Linked DNA regions of Homo sapiens: region 1 is linked to region 2. The links are contacts of gene promoters, found by promoter capture Hi-C in blood cells and fetal thymus (Javierre and others, 2016). All regions are on one chromosome and are shown on one strand. The core of a region is centred on a gene start or on the middle of the fragment in contact, and the rest is flanking DNA. Distances in the headings are between cores, read along the strand shown. Region 1 overlaps LRRK1 (leucine rich repeat kinase 1). Region 2 holds the start of ASB7 (ankyrin repeat and SOCS box containing 7).

What was found. Contacts are between HindIII fragments. The CHiCAGO score rates a contact against its expected background, and 5 or more counts as called.
Region 1: a fragment that was not itself captured here is called in contact with the fragment with the promoter of ASB7 in region 2 in 1 of 17 cell types (monocytes); the score reaches 5.1 in monocytes.

What each region holds. Positions count from the first base shown.
Region 1 is chr15:101,022,280-101,026,388 of GRCh38, forward strand. It overlaps LRRK1 (leucine rich repeat kinase 1), which reads left to right. Exons shown (of 34, transcript NM_024652.6): 15 at 104-318; 16 at 2,524-2,688; 17 at 3,686-3,858. Among named protein-coding and RNA genes, the nearest start is that of LRRK1, 100 kb to the left of the region's middle. The HindIII fragment of the contact is 4,066 bases long and covers 1-3,283 here.
Region 2 is chr15:100,601,200-100,605,530 of GRCh38, forward strand. It overlaps ASB7 (ankyrin repeat and SOCS box containing 7), which reads left to right and starts at 1,390. Exons shown (of 6, transcript NM_198243.3): 1 at 1,390-1,847; 2 at 2,016-2,114. It overlaps LINS1 (lines homolog 1), which reads right to left and starts at 985. Exons shown (of 7, transcript NM_001040616.3): 1 at 922-985. RefSeq lists an enhancer at 903-1,242 and silencers at 1,413-1,672, 2,123-2,172. The HindIII fragment of the contact is 6,685 bases long and covers 1-4,331 here.

The sequences.
Region 1 (4,109 bases), core at 1-2,500, 420 kb after region 2:
ACTAAAACACAAAGAAGGAGTTCCTTCACAACAGGATTTTGTGTCCTAAGAGATGTGAGCATGTGCCCACGCAGCTACCCTTCCCCTTAATGATTTTGCACAGGCCCCAAAGCAATGCTGTCTTACCTGCGTGCTCAGCTGCGGAAAGCGGAAAAGTGCAAGCTGATGAAGATGATCATCGTGGGTCCCCCGCGCCAGGGCAAGTCCACCCTCCTGGAGATCTTACAGACGGGGAGGGCCCCCCAGGTGGTGCATGGAGAGGCCACCATCAGGACCACCAAGTGGGAGCTCCAGAGGCCGGCTGGCTCGAGAGCCAAGGTCAAGGATGGTCTGCGTGCAGAGTCCCTGTGGGTGGGAGGAACATCCCTTGGACTCCTTCTCCCTTCTCCCCAGAGAGCCCAGGATTTTCTCAGCCTGGTGTCCAAAGCTCAGGCCCTTTGCAGGAGCCACTGTGTACCATTCCATACCAGCTTCTGCCAAGAGCAGCGAATCATTTCTTAATGTGACTTTGTGATGTTTTCTTTTTCTTTACTTTTCTTTTTTTTTTTTCTTGAGACAGGGTTTCACTGTGTCTCTCAGGCTGGATGCATCCTCAACCTCCCCAGCTTAAATGATCCACCTGCCCTGTATGTTTCTGTTATAGTTACTTGAGGCTCTGGGACAGTGGTTCTTAACCCCGGCTGTCTGTTAGATTCCCTTGAGGGGCTTTTAAAGATAGCAATTCCCAGGCCTCACCTCACTGCTCTCTGACCCCAAGGATTCAAGTTCAAGTGGTCTGGGATAAGGCACCCCCAGGGCTGAGAGCTAACCACTGTTGCAGGCAGTGAAACACACCAGCATCTGCCCCCTGATGAGGAGGCTAAAAGCACTCTGGGACTTAACACCCTGCCGTCCCTGACACCTGCTTTCACCCCAGGTTCTGAAAAGTCCTGTTTCTAAGCCCTACTTAAAATGAATCCATCACTGCTTGAACCCGGGAGGTGGAGGTTGCAGTGAGCCGAGATCATGCCACTGCACTCCAGCCTGGCGACAGAGCAAGACTCCATTCAAAAAAAATTTTTTGAGTCCATCCATAAACTTCTTAATCATCTTGCTTTCCATTCAGTGCCAGGCAAATGGAAATGAACATTTTCCTGTTCATGTAACAGAGAAAAGAGCCATGGACTGTTGGTGGGAACTCCATCCCTGGAATAGAGCAGGGGCAGTTAGCCCTTTCTCTGAGCTCGGGGAACGAACACACATAGATAAGGCCATCCTCATCAACTGTATTTGGATTTCTGCCACCCTGTGATTCCTCGGGATCCAAGGGGCAAGAGGCTGCTTCACTGTGGAAAACTGAGGAGGCTTGAGATCCAGATGGTCCATGATTTTCCCCCAAAGCTCCCACGCACAGTGCCAACCAAACACTGCAGCTTCTTCCACACACAACCACTTTCCAAACCTGCTTTGAAAAAGTAGGCATTGAAGCTGTGCATCTGTTCTAACACGAACTTGGAAGCTGGTCCTCCAAGGGGTGAAGCGCTGCCTGTTGGGGCCAGAACAATCAAACACGACAATCAACGCTAGGCCAATCCTAGAACATTCCAGGAGCAAATCTAGCTGACTCGAGTCTGAAGGTTCTCTCCAGGAACCAGAATCCTCTGCATTCTCTCCAGCTTTGCCTTTTTCTTAACAGTTATGCAATCTCATTTCTTCTCTTAGCTTCCTCTAGCTGAGGCCTGAGGGGTGAATTCGTGCTTCTATTTTTCCTGACCTTCACCCCCACTTCCTTTCTGCGATGATTAAAACCCCCTACCCTTTAGTGGAAGGACAATCCTGTGAAGGCTGAGCCCGCCGCTCTCTCTGTGGCCGGCCTCAGCCAGTTGAGAACAGCTGTTTTCATCTTTATACAAAACCAGGTCAGCACACTGTGTCTTGGAGGCTGATGCTGCCTCACAGAGATGACTCCTTTCTGTAGAAAACTGCAGCCTTAGCATCCAGGGCCAGACTCTTACCTCATGCAATGATAGAGAAACCACCGTTTACACAGCCGTTCCCGGCAGCCCAACAGCTCATCTTTTGTTTGATTCCCACAGGGTGGGAGGGAGTTTCCCAGCATCCTTGGTGGGCGCCACCCTCTGAGCCCCACAAGTTCAGAGGCCCATCTCCTCCTCTTGCCCTGGCACACAGGGAGGCTGAACCCCAGTGCAAGCCGTGACATCAGAGCACAGCTTCCTCCCACAGGGCATCCCCTACCCATCTGCAGCCCAGACAGAGCCAGGCCCTCTGAAGTCTGTCCAGGGCCTGGTCTCTGCTCTGCTAGGAGTAGACAGAAGTCCCAGAAGCCCACCCCCATGCCACCGGGCCCCTGTCCCTCGCCCAGATAACTGTTTCCTAAGAAACAATAGAGTGTCCAGAACTTTTCCACGGTTGTTTTTTCAGACCCCCGAGTCCAGCCTCCAGAGTTATCCGTTGTCTCCGTTTGATTGACTGAAGCCTTTGTCTCTAAAATGCCTCCCTGTCGCTGCCTTGTTGCTCAAGTAGGTTGAGTCCGTGGAGTTCAACGTCTGGGACATCGGGGGACCGGCCAGCATGGCCACTGTCAACCAGTGCTTCTTCACGGACAAGGCCCTGTACGTGGTGGTCTGGAACCTGGCGCTGGGGGAGGAGGCCGTGGCCAACCTCCAGTTCTGGCTGCTCAACATCGAGGTGAGGACACCAGACGCCAGCCCTGCCATTTCAGTGCCCAGAGCTTTGCAGGTCCCACCGCTTCCCTCAAGCATCCCCTGTACTGAGAAAAAAAGGGGGTTATGTTGCCACAGAGGGCCCCAGAACCGTGGTCCTGCTTGCTTTTCACAGTGAGGCACTTGAAACCTTCCTCTGCTGAGGGCTGGTGATGTAATTTCCCCGCTTCCCTTAAATTTAGGAACCCCCACCCTTGGATCCAAAAGCAGAGCAGGGTTCCCTTCCTGTTATAAAGATGTCCTTGTCTCCCTGCCTCTGATGGCTGCTGTCATGTCTGAAGGGTCAGAAATCCCTCCCCACAAGTCCAACTCAGCACCCTCCGTGGAGGAGGTCACAGAACACCATAGACACCCCTCAATGCAACAGTCCCTCAGGTTCACGGAGAATGAGGAGCACAGGTGCTGCCTGGGCTGACATCCTGTAGCGCAGTCTGTTTTGCATTACTAGAAAGGAATGAGACTGGGTAATTTATGAAGAAAAGAGGTTCATTTGGCTCACAATTCCGCAGACTATACAAGCATGGCTTCAGCATCTGTTGGCTTTTGGTTAGGCCTCAGGAAGCTTTTAGTCATGGCAGAAGGGAAGGGGAGCCAGCATGTCACATAGTGAGAGAGGGAGCAGGAGAGACAGGAAGAGGAGCCAGCCTCCTTTCCACAATCAGCTCCTCTGTGAACTGACATAGGGTGAACGCACCCATTACTGCAGGAAGGTGCCAAGCCATTCATGAGGGATCTGGCCCCATGACCCAACCTCCCGTCAGGCCTCACCTCCAACACTGGGGATCACATTTCAACATAAGATTTGGAGGAGGCAAACATCCAAACCGTCTCAAGGCTGCAGATTGGTGGCTGAGCAAGGGCCGTGGCATCCAGGGTCAGCGCACCTGCACAGCTGGGAGCTCTGTCCTGTCCCTTGTTCCATGAACAGAGACAGTACTCAGCCGTGGGGTTCTCTGTTGCAGGCCAAGGCCCCAAACGCCGTGGTGCTGGTGGTCGGGACGCACCTGGATTTAATTGAAGCCAAGTTCCGTGTGGAAAGGATTGCAACGCTGCGTGCCTATGTGCTGGCACTCTGCCGCTCCCCCTCCGGCTCCAGGGCCACAGGCTTCCCAGACATCACCTTCAAACACTTACAGTGAGTGCCCAGCCTCGGGCAGCTCCTGCCTTCTTGTGGGTGCCAGTCGCTGATCTTTCCTGGGATCAGCTTGCAGAGAGCTCCTGAGTCTGGGTGGGGCTAGGCCCCTTTCCTGGCCAAGGGTGGCCATCCACAGAGCTGACCCAGCCTTGGGGAGGGTGAAGACCTACCAGACGGCTGGCTGGTTGAGGCCTGGAGGTGCCCCTCTTTGCTTCCTTTCTGCCCCATCCCCGCCCCAAGGGCCAGTGCTG
Region 2 (4,331 bases), core at 140-2,639:
TTTCCTGTTGCTTATAAAATAATTCCTAAAACTCGGTAATTTATAAAGAAAAGTAATTTATTGTCTAGTTTTGGAGGCTGGGAAGTCTAAGACTGACGGACCACGAGACAGCACCGCAAAGTATCACGTGGCCAGGGGGCTGAGCAGGCTCACGAGTTGTCAAGTCTCTCCTTAAAAAGCCACCAGTTCTACCTCCGTGATAACCCATTAATCCATGAATAGATCAATCCACTCGTGAAGACAGAACCCTCACGGTCCAACCACCTCTTAAAGACTCTACCTCTCAGTACTGCCACATTGGGGATTAAATTTCAACATGAGTTTTGAAGGGGACAGATATTCACACCATAGCACTACCTATCTAATACAGCCCATCACGTCCTGGTCAAAATCGATTCCACCATTCTGCTTGATTTTCCTCATATAACCCATCCCTATCTGATAATTTTGTGTTTGTTTCCCCGAAATCACTATCTTGTTCACTGTTGTCTCCCCAGGGACTAGAACAGTGGCCAGTAAACACTTGCTAATGAATAAAGTGCTTAACAAACGTGTCTTGATCAGTCTATCTCGCGTTTTCCCCACGACCCCTCTCCATTCATTCACAGGAACCCGCCAACGTTGCTATCCTTTCAGGAAGGTCCTTGGATCGTCATCGCTATCCCAAAGAGAGTCCGTTCTCCCACTTCAGGCGAGGCATTGCCAGCCTGGAAGCTAACGGGGTCTCAAGGACCGACAGCCGCGCCAAGACCGGGCACTTGCGTCTGACAAGCGCTGAACAGGGGCGGAGAAACAAGGCACCCCTCTACTCGCTTCCTGGAGCCTGCCGCCCTCCCAACCTTAAGCCCTGAACCAGGCTCTCATTTGGCCGCACTCGTGCCTCCCCTGCTGCCAGCACGGCGGCCGGTCCCGGTTACCTGCCTGGGATCTGGCTCAGGCGAACTCTCTTCACACCGCCATTTGAGGGAACACAAATGCCCGCTCTGGGCCACCGTAGTTCACAGAAAGTACAAGCTGGCACCTCCTCCCGCATGCGCAGAGACCGCCTTCGGCGAATAGTGTCTCTTAGCAACGGCTTTGAGTCCCTCCGCCAGGGGCGGAGCCTCGGAAGCCACCACGGGGAAGCTGTAAGGGGAAGTGAGTGAGACCAATCGGAGACGAATCTCTGCCCCGTTCGGCACGCCTCCCTTAACTGTCGCGAATGCAAAGGCAACTTTACGGCAGGCAGAGGGTGGGGGCTGCCGGGGGTAAGGAGGAGAGAAGGAAGCAACCAACCAACCAAGTCGTCCCTACTCCCTCCACCCCCACCCATCCCGGACCTGGTTTACGGCTCCAGGCTCAGGCTCCACTGCGGGCGCTGATTGGTTGTTGAAGGCTTGGTCCCATCCCAGTGACCCCAAAGTGCTGAAGGGAGGGGGCGGGGGTGGCCCAGTGCAAAGTGCATCCCGAAAGCCCCCTGTCCGGAGACCCCACGGCTGGCACTTCGGGCCCCGTATGACCTGGGACCTCGCCGTCCCGAGACCTCCTGGGTCCCTCCGTAGCTGGAAGCCTCCGGCCCGGAGCGCGGCAGCCCCCTGCTCCGAGCCCTGGACCGGGACTGCCCCCCCACCCGAGCCAGGACTTCCTCCCTGCCTCCCTGCACCTCTGCCCCAAGGCTGCCCGGCGGCCGGGATCGCCACCTCCTGCCTTCTCGGCTGTTCGGATGTTCGCCGGGCTGGGGCCGTGAGGCACCGAGGAGGATCAGGAACACCAGGGTCCGGCCCTGCCTGGGGTATTTCTTCAATGGAGAAGTTGGTGAGTGTAGAGGAGGCTGAAAGGAGGAAGAGAAGCAGCAGCTGAGGAGACAGGTAAAGTCCTTTACTTCCCCCGAGGGGAAGAGTGCTGGCTGGGAGGGTAGGAGGGAGGAAAATCTCTGCTTTTTCTTGCCTGCCCTTGCCACTCTCCAGCCCCTTTCCTGAGCTCCCCCCTCCCCACCTCTGAGACACTACACCACTCACTGGTTTCTGTTTTTCTAGGTTTGAGCTGGCTGAAGAAGACGCGAAAGCAGGAAGAGGTCTGCCCACCTATCAGAGAAGCAGAAGGCACAGTGCCTCTGACCAGCATCGTCTGTAAAGGTAATGAGCCAGCCCTCCCCTCCCCCGTTGTTTATTCCTGGCCCCTACCTCATTAAGCAGTGGTTTATTTTCAGGGTGGTTGCCTGGGAATGCAACCTTTCCTACCCCCCCCACCCCCACCCCCAGTTTCCCAGGAAAAACAAAAACATTACCCGTGCCTGATACTTAACATTTTATAACTTCTCTACCCAGGACAGTATTTTCCCACTTTCTTTCTGTACAGTGTGTTTCTGTGTTTTTCATTATCTTTTGGTACACTGTGCCATTTACTCTGCTCTGAGGCTTTGAGACCTTTTTGTAGCTACCCTCCCTTCCTTACTCTCATAGGAATTCCTCAATTCCTTGTTAATTGCTTGTTAATTCTGAATGACTTTCCTTTTTAATTAAACCACAATTTACTGTTTTCCCCCTTACTCTTTCCTATCACCTTTCTTCTACCTGCATCAGAAAAATCTTTTGAGTTATCTAACTGACAACGATTTGGTAGAGAAAGGTAAATTATTGGCCTGAGATTTATGAGTTTCAGAAAATAGTTTGATTTTATTTCCTACTAGAAAGCCAACCTGTGTACCTTAAGAGTGTGAATGGTATGAAGACAACATTATTACCCTGAAGCACTTAGGCATAATTAACTCTTTGGGCTTTCTGTGTGTTTGTGTGTGACAAATGTGGATGGGCTTTGAAACTTATAAAGATACAATGTTTCTTACACCTCAGATTTTCTAGGAGAACTTTTAAAAATTTGCACAATATCTTATTAATCGTTTGACTCAGGAATTTAAAAACAAAGGAACCTTTTGGTGTGTTTACATATCTGGGTCTTAATTTTAGCACTCTATAAAAAAGATTTCTCATTTTAAAACTTTTACGTAGAGTTTGCTGGATTGAAATTTAAGCATCTAATTCATGTGATCACATTTCTGCTGCCATATTTTGTTGCTGCTTCTGAAAATGCTCTGAAAGTAAACTTAGGACATTAGTGTAATTCCTAAAGGGGGGATATAAGCATGGAAATTATACAAGGTTTAATTCCAAAATTAGCCAAATGGATGACTTTTTTAACATCCAGTAGCAAAAGTATAAAGTGACTTGTTAATCTGAGTTATTTTAATATCCCAAATTGTTTAGGGAATTTTTGTTACAAGGAAGTGCTTAAAATAGCAGAAGTTAATATTTTTGATTTCCTATGTTCCACTGGACTTTCTGCCCTCCACAAAAAGAAATTAGTATCTTTACTGATTCTGTTAATTCTTAAGACATAGCTAAAGAGATAAAGACATAGCTTTTAAGGGGATCTGAGGTATGCATATTCTTGAGACATGGAACTGCATGCCAAAAGAAGAGATTCTAGGGAATAGGATTTAGAATCAGTATCTACCAATGACTGTTCCCTGTTGAAAACTTAGGGCAGCTTTTGTATGTATATGTAGGGAATCAGGAGTACTAGACTACATCATTTCAGTAAAAGCTACCCGGAAATCTTTAAAGGCTAATTTTTATTATGTAAGTATGGAAGTTGTCAGGGAGATGGCCTAATGATTACTTCAGAACTTTTAAAAAATGCTAAAATATTTGAAGTATGTTCTAAAGATCAAAATGAAGTACTGTGTTTTGTATTCAAGCCTCTCAGTTAAATATTTTTTCAGCTTTACATGTAACTCTAGGACGCTTTCATTTCTAAAGAGTAGTTTCACCTGAGATGGTAAAGGGAAGGAGTCTGTGGCTAGTCCAGCACATAAGGTAAGAGAGGATAAGTCTTTACTCTGGCTCTCAGCCAGTTCATTCTCATTGCTTAAATCGTATTTCATGGATCATCTCATTTTTTAATAGTTTTTCTAAGATTAGGGAATATGTGTAAATTGTCAACATCTGTCATGTTTCTAATATCAGAATGACTGAGAGTATTTGGTCTAGATTATACCAGGCATTTAGAATATTTAATTTGGGTATTTATTTACCAACATGGCTAGTTAGGTAGCTTACATTTTTTAACCTGGCAGTTAGCTTTGTATTAATTCTATTGCCAATCATGTGGCTTAAAAAAAATCCAATTTATTTCGTCACCAAATATAGATTTATAATCACGTAGGGAGAATAATTGATTTTAATTGAAGATATGCAATGATGCATCTTTAGTATACTGTGGCCAGTACTTACATTCTTTACACATAAAGTGATGTCATTTACAATTAGTTAATACTATGACACATACAGTAT